Regions from separate parts of the Homo sapiens genome. Here all the other regions are linked to region 4. Evidence: promoter capture Hi-C in 16 types of primary human blood cells and fetal thymus (Javierre and others, 2016). All regions are on one chromosome and are shown on one strand. The core of a region is centred on a gene start or on the middle of the fragment in contact, and the rest is flanking DNA. Distances in the headings are between cores, read along the strand shown.

What was found. Contacts are between HindIII fragments. The CHiCAGO score rates a contact against its expected background, and 5 or more counts as called.
Region 1: a fragment that was not itself captured here is called in contact with the fragment with the promoter of SENP5 in region 4 in 1 of 17 cell types (fetal thymus); the score reaches 8.2 in fetal thymus.
Region 2: a fragment that was not itself captured here is called in contact with the fragment with the promoter of SENP5 in region 4 in 1 of 17 cell types (endothelial precursors); the score reaches 5.0 in endothelial precursors.
Region 3: a fragment that was not itself captured here is called in contact with the fragment with the promoter of SENP5 in region 4 in 1 of 17 cell types (endothelial precursors); the score reaches 5.1 in endothelial precursors.

What each region holds. Positions count from the first base shown.
Region 1 is chr3:196,606,191-196,609,319 of GRCh38, forward strand. No RefSeq gene overlaps it. Among named protein-coding and RNA genes, the nearest start is that of LINC01063, 25 kb to the right of the region's middle. The HindIII fragment of the contact is 2,280 bases long and covers 622-2,901 here.
Region 2 is chr3:196,525,053-196,528,356 of GRCh38, forward strand. It overlaps the pseudogene NAA50P2. Among named protein-coding and RNA genes, the nearest start is that of SMCO1, 11 kb to the left of the region's middle. RefSeq lists an enhancer at 2,866-2,935. The HindIII fragment of the contact is 2,253 bases long and covers 440-2,692 here.
Region 3 is chr3:196,589,041-196,592,345 of GRCh38, forward strand. It overlaps FBXO45 (F-box protein 45), which reads left to right. Exons shown (of 3, transcript NM_001105573.2): 3 at 1-19. Among named protein-coding and RNA genes, the nearest start is that of FBXO45, 22 kb to the left of the region's middle. The HindIII fragment of the contact is 528 bases long and covers 1,756-2,283 here.
Region 4 is chr3:196,866,437-196,869,394 of GRCh38, forward strand. It overlaps SENP5 (SUMO specific peptidase 5), which reads left to right and starts at 1,484. Exons shown (of 10, transcript NM_152699.5): 1 at 1,484-1,637. RefSeq lists a silencer at 1,261-1,840 and an enhancer at 2,492-2,958. The HindIII fragment of the contact is 1,751 bases long and covers 727-2,477 here.

The sequences.
Region 1 (3,129 bases), core at 512-3,011, 260 kb before region 4:
AACAGGCTTTCCGACCCAGGGCTTGTATTAGTTGACAACATCGTGACAAGTTTGCATCATGGGCCATGAAAGGCATAAAAGGTATTTTGAGGCTTCTGTCCATATCTGTAAAACAAAAGGAGAAATAGTCTTTAAAACATTTTTAATATAGGTTTTTAATCTATCTAGAATTTATTTTTGTTATGGAGAAAGTAGAAATTTCATTATTAAATACATACTGTTAATATTGTATCCTGCTCCTATTTATTGAATAGCTTATGCTTCCATTGATTTACAGTGCCTCCTCTGTCACATATCAAGTTTCCATATGTACATATACATGGGCCAGCTCCTGGACTGTCTGATTCTTTTGGCCTCTTTGTCTACACATAGGCTAGTACTATACACTCTTAGTTGTTCTCACTTTATAATCAATCTTAGGGTTTTTGTTTTGTTTTAGAGTCACGGTCTTGGTCTGTCACCCAGGCTGTGGTACAGTGGCATGGCCATAGCTCACTGTACCCTTGAACTCTTGGGCTCAAGAAATCCTCCCATCTCAGCCTCCCTAGTAGCTGGGACTTCAGGTGTGCACCATGACACCTGGTCAATCCTTTTTATAGATCTTTTATAATGTTTTAAATAAGCTTTTTTCTAGGGCTGGAGTCTCACTATGTTGCCAAGGCTGAGCTCGTATTCCAGATCTCAAGTGATCTTCCTGGGATCGTAGGCTGGGATTACAGGCATGAGCCCTGTGATCACGGCTCACCGCAGCCTCTGTCTCCTGGGCCCAACTCCTGATCTTGAACTCCTTGGCTCAAGTGATCCTCCCACCTCAGCCTCCCAAGTAGCTGGGACTACATGCACACACCACTATGCTGGCTAATTTTTTTGCATTTTTTTGTACAGACAGGGTTTCACCACATTGCCCAGGGTGGTCTTGAACTCCTGGGCTCACGCAATCCGCCTGCCTTGGCCTCCCAAAGTGCTGGGATTACAAGCATAAGCCAGGGTGCCCAGCCCCAGTCTTCATTTTGAAAGAGCAATTCCCTCAAACTTTTGGTTTTAAAAAATTGTTTTGGTTATTCTTGGCCCTTTACTCTTCTATATAGATTTTAGAACGTACCTTGTGAAGTCACCTGGAAGTTCTGTTGGGATTTTTATTGAAAATTGAAAATATAAATCAATATGCATGTTGAATCAATAGACTTGGGAAGAATTGGTATCTTTATGATGAAATGCATTCTCATCCATGACTGTAGCATATCTTCATCATCTTTTATGTCATTCAATATTGTCTTTGAAGATCCAATAAAAAGATAGGGTTCTCTGCTTGGGTTTGGCCCCTGTAGAGGCCAAAATATTATCTTTATTGCTGGTAGCGACCAGGTTAGAGGACGTAGCTTTAGGTCTGTTAGCTGAGTGTTTAGTAGATCAAGGCAACAAATATACAAACAATTTGATAAACATATATATATATATATAAAACACCGCCAGCAGTTTGCTCCCCAAAAAGAAAAGCAGAACTAACATATCCAGATTATTCTTCCTAAATTTACTATTTAACATCACTCTGTCCTCCAAGGAGCAGAATGAGTAAAGAGGCAGAGAGACTGAGACTATCACACCAATAGAGGTCCTTGAAATGAATGGAAATCTTAGGAGTAGGAACTAAGCATGCTTTCCTCACAGGCATCTAAGTTGTTTGTGTACAGATCCTTTGCCCATTTAAAAAATGAGTAATTTGGCCGGGTGGAGTGGCTCATGCCTGTAATCCTAGCACTTTGGGAAGTCGAGGTGAGCAGATTGCCTGAGCTCAGGAGTTCAAGACCAGCCCGAGCAACATGATGAAACCCCGTCTCTACTAAAAATATTTAAAAAATTAGCTGGGCATGGTGGTACACACTTGTAATCCCAGTTACTTGGGAGGCTGAGGCACAAGAATTGCTTGAGCCTGGGAGGCAGAGGTTGCAGTGAACTGAGATTGCACCACTGCACTCCAGCCTGGGTGACAGATTGAGACTCTGTCTCAAAAATAAAAAATAAAATAAACTAAAATAAAAAATGCGTAATTTGTCTTTTTATTGTTGAGTTGAAGTCCAATTTATTTACTTCTTTTGTCACTTGGGCTTTTGGTTTCATATCTAAGAAACCATTGTCTAGTTCAAAGTCACAAAGATTTACTCCTTTGTTTTCTTCAAAGGGTTTTACAGTTTGATCTCTCACATTTAGGTCTATGAGAATTTAGAATTATTTTTTTGTTTATGGTGTGAGGTAGGAATTCAACTTCATTCTCTTACATGTGGATATTCACATGAACTATAATCTGTTCAATCATTTCTCCTTTACTGTTATTTTCTTCTGAGGCTTTTAAAAGGGGATATATTAGAGACCCAATGTATTGTCTCGATTGCCTAGCTGATGTCACATATTTTTTACTTGAAAAAATGTCTTTATCGTGTTTACTGCTCTGTCTTGTGTTAATTCACAAATTTTCTCTTTGTGCTCAGTATGGAGTTTATTCTATTAGATTTTAAAAGTCATTAAACATATGTCATGTTCGTAAGATTTCTAACCCATTTTTTTCTCATTTAAAAATAAACTAATGAATTTACTATTTTTGAATATGAAACATAGGCACACAGCACAGAATTCAAAGAATAAAAAATACAATGATGAGGTTATTGGCTTTAAAAATATTTACCTGTTCTTGTTTCATTTTTGTTAGTTCTTGTTTCATAACTTTGTTATAATGTGTGTTATTTATAGAGCTATAAGTGTGTGTGCAGGGGGAGTTGGTAGAAGACAACATAGGTCACAGCCTGTGCAAGGAAGAATAGTGGGAGACAGAAATAAAGAGGTAAGTTGGGGTCAGTTTGTGGACTTTGGAATAAAAGGGAAGAAAACAGTTGTCGAAGAGTATGAAGCTTATTATCTTAGCCATGTAGTCTTTGAATAATTTTTTTACCACTTAATAAACATTGTGCTTTAAGAAGGCTAAAATGCTTCAGATATACCAAAGGGAGGAGATGGGTAGTCTAGGCCTCATTAAAAGGCTTCCATCTCAGGTGGGTACCCAACCACCTTATACTTCCTTGACCCCTTTTCACAGGCCTGTATGCTGATTATAAGCCAGACGTTTCAGACATTTTG
Region 2 (3,304 bases), core at 316-2,815, 340 kb before region 4:
CCACTGCACTCCAGCCTGGCGACAGAGTGAGACTCCGTCTCAAAAAAAACAAAAACAAAACCAAAAACAAAAAAATTGTTCTCGCCTAAATCCAGCCACTTTCCTCCCCAAGGAAACTAGGGAACCTGAACATGACTGTGAACAAGTCCTGATACAGACCTATGCAGCCAGGGAAGATCTCAGGGAAACCGCTAGAGAACCCACACTGGACCCTCTTCACAGATGGGAGCTCTTTTGTAGAACAAGGAATCCATAAGGCAGGATATGCAGTAGTCACTCTAAATGACGTCATTGAAAGTGTGTCTCTCCGTCCAAGCACTCAATTAGCTGAGCTGATAGCTCTTACTCGAGCACTAGAATTAAGCAAAGGAAAGGTAGCTAACATTTGCACTGACTCCAAGTATGCTTTCTTGGTTCTTCATGCTCATGCTGCCATCTAAGCTTTCTTTTAAATATTTTCAGTATGTCCAAGAGAAAACACCTGCTTCCGTTTATTTAGCGGTAATAACCTATATGGACTTAAAAATTTTTTTTGTACAGATGAGGTTTCACCATGTTGCCCAGGCTGGTCTTCAGACTCCCAAAGTGCTGCGATTACAGGCGTGAGCCACTGCACCCGGCCAACATTTTCTTTTTTAGAAACAGGGTCTCACTCTGTTGCCCAGGCTGGAGTGCAGTGGCATGATCACGGCATACTGCAGCCTCGACCTCGTGGGCTCAAGTGATTCTCCTTCCTTAGCCTCCCAAGTAGCTGGGACTACAGGTATGCACCACCACGCCCAGCTAATTTTTTTTTGTTTTAATTTTTATGTACAGACAGGCATCTTACTATGTTGTCCTGGCTGGTCTCCAATTCCTGGGCTCAAGTGATTCACCCGCCTTGGCCTCCCAAAGTGTTGGGATTACAGACATGAGCCACCACACCTGGGTTATTGTTGGATTTACTGAAGAAAAGGGGCAGGAGAAAAAAGTTAAATTACGACAAATCTCTAGGTCAATTAGAAGCCATATCTCTGGGATATTTTAAAAAATCAGTCTTACCGCTTCCGACTCTAAAAGTTAATGCCATTAGTAACAACAGCAGGAAAAATAAACCTGATAAAAACCAGCCCATTCATTTTAGCAAAAAAGCAGTTTAACTCAAAATACTTAGACCAAAGTATAACACTACGTACCCAAGGTGCCCCACCCACCAGCAAGAAGAGAAGAAATAATTGCTTTAAAAATCAAAATATGCGGCCAGGCGCCGTGGCTCACCCCTGTAGTCTCAGCACTTTGGGAGGCCAAGGCAGGCAGATTACCTGAGGTCGGGAGTTCAAGACTAGCCTGGCCAACATGGTGAAACCCTCTTTCTACTAAAAACACAAAAATTAGCCGGGCGTGGTGGCGCGTGCCTGTAGTCCCAGCTACCTCGGGAGGCTAAGGCAGGAGAATCGCCTAAACTCAGGAGACGGAGCTTGCAATGAGCCGAGATCCGCCACTGCACTCCAGCCTGGGCGACAGAGCAAGACTCTGTCTCCAAAATAATAATAATAATAATAAATATGCTCAGCATTTCTTCCAGAGATAGCAACGGTGCTACTCCTGAGAGTGCTCGGAAGGACTAAAGCTGGAGTGAAGATAATGTCTAGGGATTGGTATCCCACAAAGGCTTTCAAAGCCCAAGGTACCACAAGCACACTAAACTCGTCTATGAATTAGAAAACAAGATATCACTGCTGCTTCTTTCTGTCTTTTGAAATGTACAATATTTTGTAGGCTCTGCCCTTCGATGTGAAAGCAGGACTAAGAAAAAACAACTAAGAGGGCCAGGCTCGGTGGCTCACGCCTGTAATCCCAGCACTTTGGGAGGCCGAGGCAGGCGGATCATGAAGTCAAGAAATCAAGACCATCTGGCCAACATGGTGAAACCCTGTCTCTACTAAGAAAATACCAAAATTAGCCGGACGTGGTGGCAGGCGCCTGTAGTCCCAGCTACTCAGGAGGCTGAAGCAGGAGAATCATTTGAACCCAGAAGGCGGAGGTTGCAGTGAGCTGAGATCTCGCCATTGCATTCCAGCCTGGGCAACAGTGTGAGACTCCGTCTCCAAAAAAAAAAAATAGAGACAGAGTCTTGCTATGTTGCCCAGGCTGGTCTCCAACTCCAAGCTAAGAAATGTGAAATTATTTGACACCTAAATTTTTAGAACCATTTATCTTAACTGTGAAATTAAACAGATCTACCTTCTCCTGCCTTCAGTCAAACCACCTCACAAAAATAAGAGAACTGAAACAATCCAAACATGATCTTTTTTTTTTTTTTTTTTTTTTTTTTTTTTTTGAGATGGAGTCTTGCTCTGTGGCCCAGGCTGGAGTGCAGTGGCACGATCTCGGCTCACTGCAACCTCTGCCTCCCAGGTTCAAGCGATTCCCCTGTCTCAGGCTCCTGAGTAGCTTGGGACTACAGGCACACGCCACCACGCCTGGCTAATTTTTGTATTTTTAGTACAGATGGGGTTTCACCATGTTGGCCAGGCTCGTCTGGAACTCCTGACCTCAAGTGATCCACCCACCTTGGCCTCCCAAAGTGCTGGGATTACAGGAGTGAGTCACTGCGCCTGGCCCAAACATGATCATTTTTAAAGTCCTTGAAAGTATTAAAACTTTGAAAAGAAAAGAAAGAAGGAAAAACAAAAACATGGCAGTGCAGGAAAGCTTTACAAGAAAGAGGGGGTGAAAATCAATGGGCTTGTCTTTTTTTGTCAACAAGCAAGTGCAAGAAGGTTCATTTTGTGACTTGTTCAGTTGTGTTTTGCATATCTCCATTCTGATCGGAAGGGACTTTGAGGTTTTTCTGCAACTCCTGAGCATCTGCAGGCTCCATCCTCTTATCCTTTATCTGTCTTTGTCTCAGTCATCTCAAAGCCAAACTTCTGTAGAAGTCAATTGCTGACTCATTGCTGATCTGGACAAACAGATGTTGTCAAAAGTGCCATCTTGGCTGGGCAGTGGCTTATGCCTGTAATCCCAGCACTTTGGGAGGCTGAAGTAGGCAGATCCCTAGAGTACAGGAGTTCGAAACTAGCCTGGCCAATATGGTGAAACCCCGTCTCTACTAAAAACACAAAAATTAGCCAGGCGCGGTGGCTCCCATCTGTAACCCCAGCACTTTGGGAGGCCAAGGCGGGCGGATGTCCTGAGGTCGGGAGTTCAAGACCTGCCAGGCCAGCATGGTGAAACCCCGTCTCTACTAAAAATACAAAAATTAGCCGGGCGTGGTAGCACATGCCTCTAATCTCAGCTACTCGGGAGGCTGAGGCAGGAG
Region 3 (3,305 bases), core at 770-3,269, 280 kb before region 4:
ATAAAAAGTTAAACATTAACCACCTGTGATTGCTTACATTTAAAGACATTTTTTACACATTGGTTAGAAAGAAAAATTGGGGTGCCTTAATAGCCAGAGGTGGTGATGGAATTTACCTATAAATTCCATGGCTTTAATAATAGAATCCACATTCCCCATGTTTAGAATGGAAAGTGGACAGAGAACAGTAATTCACTAGGGTCTTATTTCCCAATTGCCTCTACCGCCCCCCACCCCACCCTCCTGCTGACATTTGTTTGATAATGCAGTTGTTTGCCAAGAATTATGAGAGACAGGCATGCTATTCCTGAACTGGCTGAATACACGGCTCCTGTGATCCAAAAGCTTAAAAGAGAATCAGTTGATGATGTTGCTAAACAAGTTGGCTGATATGTTAAAGTTCAAAGCATTTTAATTTTTTTTTTTTTTTTTTTTTTTTTTTTTTTTTTTTTTTTTTTTTTGAGACAAAGTCTTGCTCTGTCACCCAGGCTGGAGAGCAGTTGATGTGCTCTCGGCTCATTGCAACCCCTGCCTCAGGTGATCCGTGTGCCTCGGCCTCCCAAAGTGCTGGGATTACAGGCATGAGCCACCGTGCCCAGCCCAAAGCATTTAAATTTTATAAAAGAAAAATAGGTGTAAATGTTCTGTATTTGCCGCTTTGTTTAGTGGAAAGAGACGCCAGAGACAGCTTTACCAGTCTGTTGTCCTGATTTCTTTTTTGGATCCTCCCTCGAACTGTTTGCTTCTTATTTAATGTGTTCACTAAAATACTGTTGAGAGCAACATGTTCTCTAGTCTTCAGAATAATAGTTTGCTGAAAGAAGTAGCCCTTTAAGATTTAAGATTGTTATTCAGCTTTTGTATGTAGGATTTCATGATGAGTGGCTCAAGAAGTAGGAATCATTTGGGGAGTTTCCTTAGGTCACCCTGTTGATAGTGTTTAATTTCTGTTTAAGGCAGGAAAACATTAAGAAAAGATTAGAGAAGTCAAGTCCTGTCTATGATATGATATGATACTTGTACACCATGTTATATTTCTGCCCCCTTTCCTGTATAAATAAAATGGGGATAAAATCAAGTAATGGTTTTGAGGTCATAGCTCCCTTAAGAAAGTCTCCCTGAAATAATGTATTAAAATTCTAGCGTCTCAAGTTAGATTCATTAGAGGCATATTGTAGTGGGAACAGACCAGATATCTTTGTTTATTTTAATATAGCTAACTTGTTCATATTCCCAACCCATGTTTAAAGAGCATATGATTGATCTGTGCCCCCTTGTTGGTCATCTTCACCTTGGAAGGAAAGGAGGCTTAAGGTTGCAATGAGAGTTGTTGATGACATCTCTAACCCCTCAGTAGGCCAAAGAGTGATGTAGTTCATGATCCAATTGCCCAGAATAGCACGGACAGATGGTTACTTTGCTAAAAGACATGTTGGTAGCAAAGACACTGCTCTGAGCAGAGACTGGTGGCAAAGCCCAGCGCAATCCACCCTTCTGAGCACAGCCTACAGGAACTTCAGTGCCGACGGAGTCACGGAGGCCACTCTAGGTTTTACATGGCCATAGTTGAGCTTCTGAAATTTTGAAGGATCTCCCTGCCCACCCAGCTACTAGTCATCCACTTGGTAATGTAGACAGAATGAAAAAGGCAGGAAAGATCATTCATCAAATTATTTTCTAACATCCGTTATCTAGCAGGCTTTTACCAGGTACTAGAGATGGAAAGATGAGAAGGAAAAATCGAAGTTGCTGACAAGCTTCTGTGAAAGCAAATGTGGAAACAGACTACTGTGAAACTGAGGTAACTGCTTTAACGAAATTACAGGTGAGGTCCAGGGTGGCATAGGAGAGGGAATAGTTAACCTGGGGCGATGTTTAAGCTGAGCTTAGAAGATAGTAGGTGGGAGCTAATGAGGATAAATCCACTGTTCCAGGCAAGTGGGATAGGACGTGCTATGATACGGAGGCACAGATAGGTCCGCTATGTCTGGAACCATGCTGGACAAGTGGTGGGGGAGGGCATGGAACAGGGAAATTGCGTCTGGATTATAATTGCCATACCAAATAGTTTGGGTTTTGTCTATTTTTTCATGGGGGAAGCCATTCAAAAGTTTTCAGCAGGGGCATGATTAGCTACAAAAACCAATATCTGAAAGGTGGGAGTCAGGAGGTCTAGGCAGAAAATGATGAGGACCTAAACTAAGGTGACTAAAGATGGAGGAGGGATGTATTTAAGAGAATGCAGGAACACATGTGGACACCATTTGTATGTCAAGAGTGAGAAGCTTTTTGGTGCAGACATTTATAAGGTACTGCTTATTAAGAAAGGGTATTGAAAAGGAGGAATAGATTGGGAGGTGAGGGGCCGAGCGCAGTGGCTCACATCTGTCATCCCAGCACTTTGGGAGGCTGAGGTGGGCAGATCACCTGAGGCCAGGAGTTCGAGACCAGCCTGGCCAACGTGGTGAAACCCCGCCTCTACTAAAAATACAAAAATTAGTCGGTTGTGGTGGCAGGTGCCTGTAATCCCAGCTACTCGGGAGGCTGAGGCAGGAGAATGGCGGGAACCCAGGAGGCGGAGCTTGCAGTGAGCCGAGATCGCGCCATTGCACTCCAGCCTGGGTGACAGAGCGAGACTCTGTCTCAAAAAAAAAGATTGGGGGGTGAGGGTAACGAGTGCGGTTTTGAACATGTTAAATCGGAGGTGGAAATACAGAAAAGGCAGTTGGAACTAGTGAGCCTGGAGTTAAGGAGATCGGCAGCCAGCTGGATGAGAGAGCTGCTGGTGTGCCGCGTTCCTCACTGGCCGTACGGGCTCCACAGCCCAGCGGGTAGAGCGAGGGAGGCGGGCCTGCAATACCCCCAAAGGACAACCAACTGCCTTCTAAACCGTGACTCTGCCAACTAAAGGCTGCGGGGGTGTTTTGTTGTTTCGGGATTTTTCTTTTCCTTACATACCCCACACCTCTGAATAACAATCCTAGCAGTTCAATTTTTTTTTTTTTTCTTGGAGACAGAGTCTCGCTCTGTCGCCCAGGCTGGAGTGCGGTGGTGTGATCTCGGCTCACTGCAACCTCCGCCTCCCGGGTTCCAGCCATTCTCCTGCCTCAGCCTCCCGAGTAGCTGGGATTACAGGCGCCCGCCACCACGCCCGGCTAATTTTTGTATTTTTAGGAGAGATGGAGTTTCACCGTGTTAGCCAGGATGGTCTTGATCTCTTGACCTCGTGATCTGCCCGCCTCGGCCTCCCAAAGTGCTGGGATTACAGGCGTGAGCCACCGCGCCCAGCCTCAGTTCAAAATTTT
Region 4 (2,958 bases), core at 234-2,733:
AAAATCACTAACAGGCTGGGTGCGGTGGCTCACGCCTGTAATCCCAGCACTTTGGGGGGCTGAGGCGGGCAGATCACGAGGTCAGGAGATCGAGATTATCCTGGCTAACTTGGTGAAACCCGGTCTCTACTAAAGAAATACAAAAAAAATTAGCCAAGCGTGGTGGTGGACGCCTGTAGTCCCAGCTACTCAGGAGGCTGAGGCAGGAGAATGGCGTGAACCCGGGAGGCAGAGCTTGCAGTGAGCCGAGATGGCGCCACTGCACTGCAGCCTGGGCGACAGAGCGACACTCCTCTAAAAAAAAAAAAAAAATCACTGACAAAGAGAAACTGTTAAAAAGAAGTGAGAGGGCCTGGTGTGGTGGTTCACGCCTGTAATTCGAGCACTGTGGGAGGCCCAGGTGGGAGGATCACTTGAGCTCAGGGGTTCAAGACCAGCCTGGGCAACATAGGGAGATGTCATCGCTACAAAAATAATGATAGTAATAGTAATAAAAAATTAGCCGGGCGTGGTGCAGGAGCCTGTGGTCGCAGGTACCCTGGAAGATGAGGTGGGAGGATCGCTTGAGCCCAGGAGGCAGAGGTTACAGCGAGCCTAGGGTGTGCCACGGCACTCCGGCTTGGGCGAGACAGCAAGACCCTGTTTGGAAAAAAAAAAAAAAGAAAAGAAAAAAGAAAAAAAAATCAACAGTAATTGCAGCCATTGCTTAGAACTAAGACTAAACAAAGCTTTTGTTTGGAAAGGAGTACTTTTTCATTAACATTGTTTAGAATTTTCTGACACATGATGATAATTAAAAGCAAACCATCCTGCAGTTGGCTTCGGTATTGTTTTTATCTTCTCCACCATCAATGCATATCCTTACTGCCTACACAGGCTCTCAGCAACGCACTGTTGGTTTTCCATTGCAGTCACCTCCACTTTATTCTTCCAGATCGAGTATGTTCAAAACTGAACTCATCTTCCGCCATAAATCTGCTATTATTATGTTTTTGCCTGTCAGGACATCGGCTTATAATTTTGGAAAGCATTCACAGTTGGGGCGGGTAAGACATAGATAAAGAGGCCAATCACAATACCAGGGGTAAGATCAATAGGAAAACCAGAGAGCGGACGCCTGGGCCAGGCCTCACAACGTCCAGAGCTGGAATGGGTCTTTTGCTTTCGGCGCAGGGGTGACGGGATCAGCGGAGGGTAGGGGTGTACACTAGCTGCGGTCTGATTTAGCCCTTTTAGGTTAAAAGCTGGAGAAGGGGCTGAAGTCTCAAACGCGCTTAGCAGCTCCTGAACGCGGTTCCCATCCCAGCGCGTTCTGAGGGAGGCCGGGGCTAAGGACGCGGTGACGGGCGGGGGCGGGGCGGCCCCGGGTCGGGAGGCGGGGCGGGAGCGCCGGAAGCGGGCGGTGCCAGGCCCAGCCTCGCAGGCGGAAGGGCGCGGAGGAGGTGACGCGATAGGCCAGCGCCGGCGTCGCGGCAGCCGCTTCAGAGGAAGCTCGGCGGCTGTGGCCGCGGCGAACAGGCCGGACGCCTCGTCGCTGGCGGGGCTTCCCTTGGAGCTGACGAAGGCGGGGTCCGCGGTCCAGGCTGCTGCCGCGACGGGGCCGGCGGCGGGGCAGCTGCCAGGAACGAGGGTAGCAGGTAAGCGGGGACGCGGGCAGACGAGTGACGGACTCAGCGATCGCCTGGCGGGGCTGGCTGGGGCCATTCCCGCGCCGGTGCGCCACCTCAGCGCCCGGTCCGGAGGCCTCGAGCCGCCCTCCCCCGCCCGAGCTGGAGGCCGCCGTCCGTCTCGGCCACAGCCTCCCTTTCCGGGGGAGGCGAGCGAGCTCGTCCCGAGGGGCCGCTGCCCTGCGCTCTCGCTCCAGCCGGGCTGTGCGTCGCAGGCACCGGGAAGCTGGCGCCCCCCAGCTCCTCCTGAAGCCGGGAAAGCTCTGAGAGGAGGAGCCGCTGTCACAGGCCTCCAGCTCCGGCCGCCGTGGAAGTCCGGGGTTTTTATTTGCTTAGACCGCTCTGCCTCCTTCCGGCCTTCGTTTCTTTCCTCGCGCTCCCCGGGACCCTTTTCCAGAGAGCCCGGTTGGGCATGAGCGCGGTGGGAGACGTCTTTTCCCTTCGGTCTGCTCTGAGCGGTATCAGCCTCCGCTCTACGCCCTGTGGCCACTCTGTCGGGGTGGAGGGATGCGGAGAGGATGTGGGAGTTTTGGACTTAGAGCGAGAATAGCCGAGGTGAAATCCTACCCTGCTCTCTGGTAGTGTTTTTCATCTCATGCTAGATAGACATTTCGACCTTTTTCACCGCAGGTAAAGTGGGACTTTCTTCTACCAATGTAAATTATAATGTTTGGAGAATTAAATGAAGAAAGCAGACGTTAGTTATGAAATGTTTTGAGAATCTGGTTAAATTTAATTTAAGAATATCCAGGACACTTCATGATAGGTTCCTACTTATGTTTTTTTTTTGCATTTTGCCCGGAATAACTAAGCTTGGTATGGAAAAGGTTGCCTAGAGATGCCAGGCGCTCGTGTGGTCAGAGCCTAACTGCAGTCTCTGTTTTGGGTGGGCAGCATCAGGAAGAAACCAGACTCTCTCCTAGCCATCCACATGTCTCACGCTTATTGATGGCATATTATTGGTATATGAGGGATGGCTTATATCAGTTTTGATCTTTACTCAAGATAGCTTTTTCCCAGTGCATCTTTTCTAGGAGAAAAGCTTGGTATGTAGAGGAGGGTGCTGGGGAGGGGGGCTTCATTTACACCTGGGCTCACAATTTTTTTTTGGAGGGGGGACAGGGTCTCACTCTGACACCCAGCCTGGAGTGCAGTGGCGCGATCTTTTCAGCTCACTGCAACCTCCTCCTCCCAGGTTCAAGCGATTCTCCTGCCTCAGCCTCCAGAGTAGCTGGGATTACAGGTGCCCGCCATCGCGCCCGGCTAATTTTTGTATTTTTAGTAGACATGG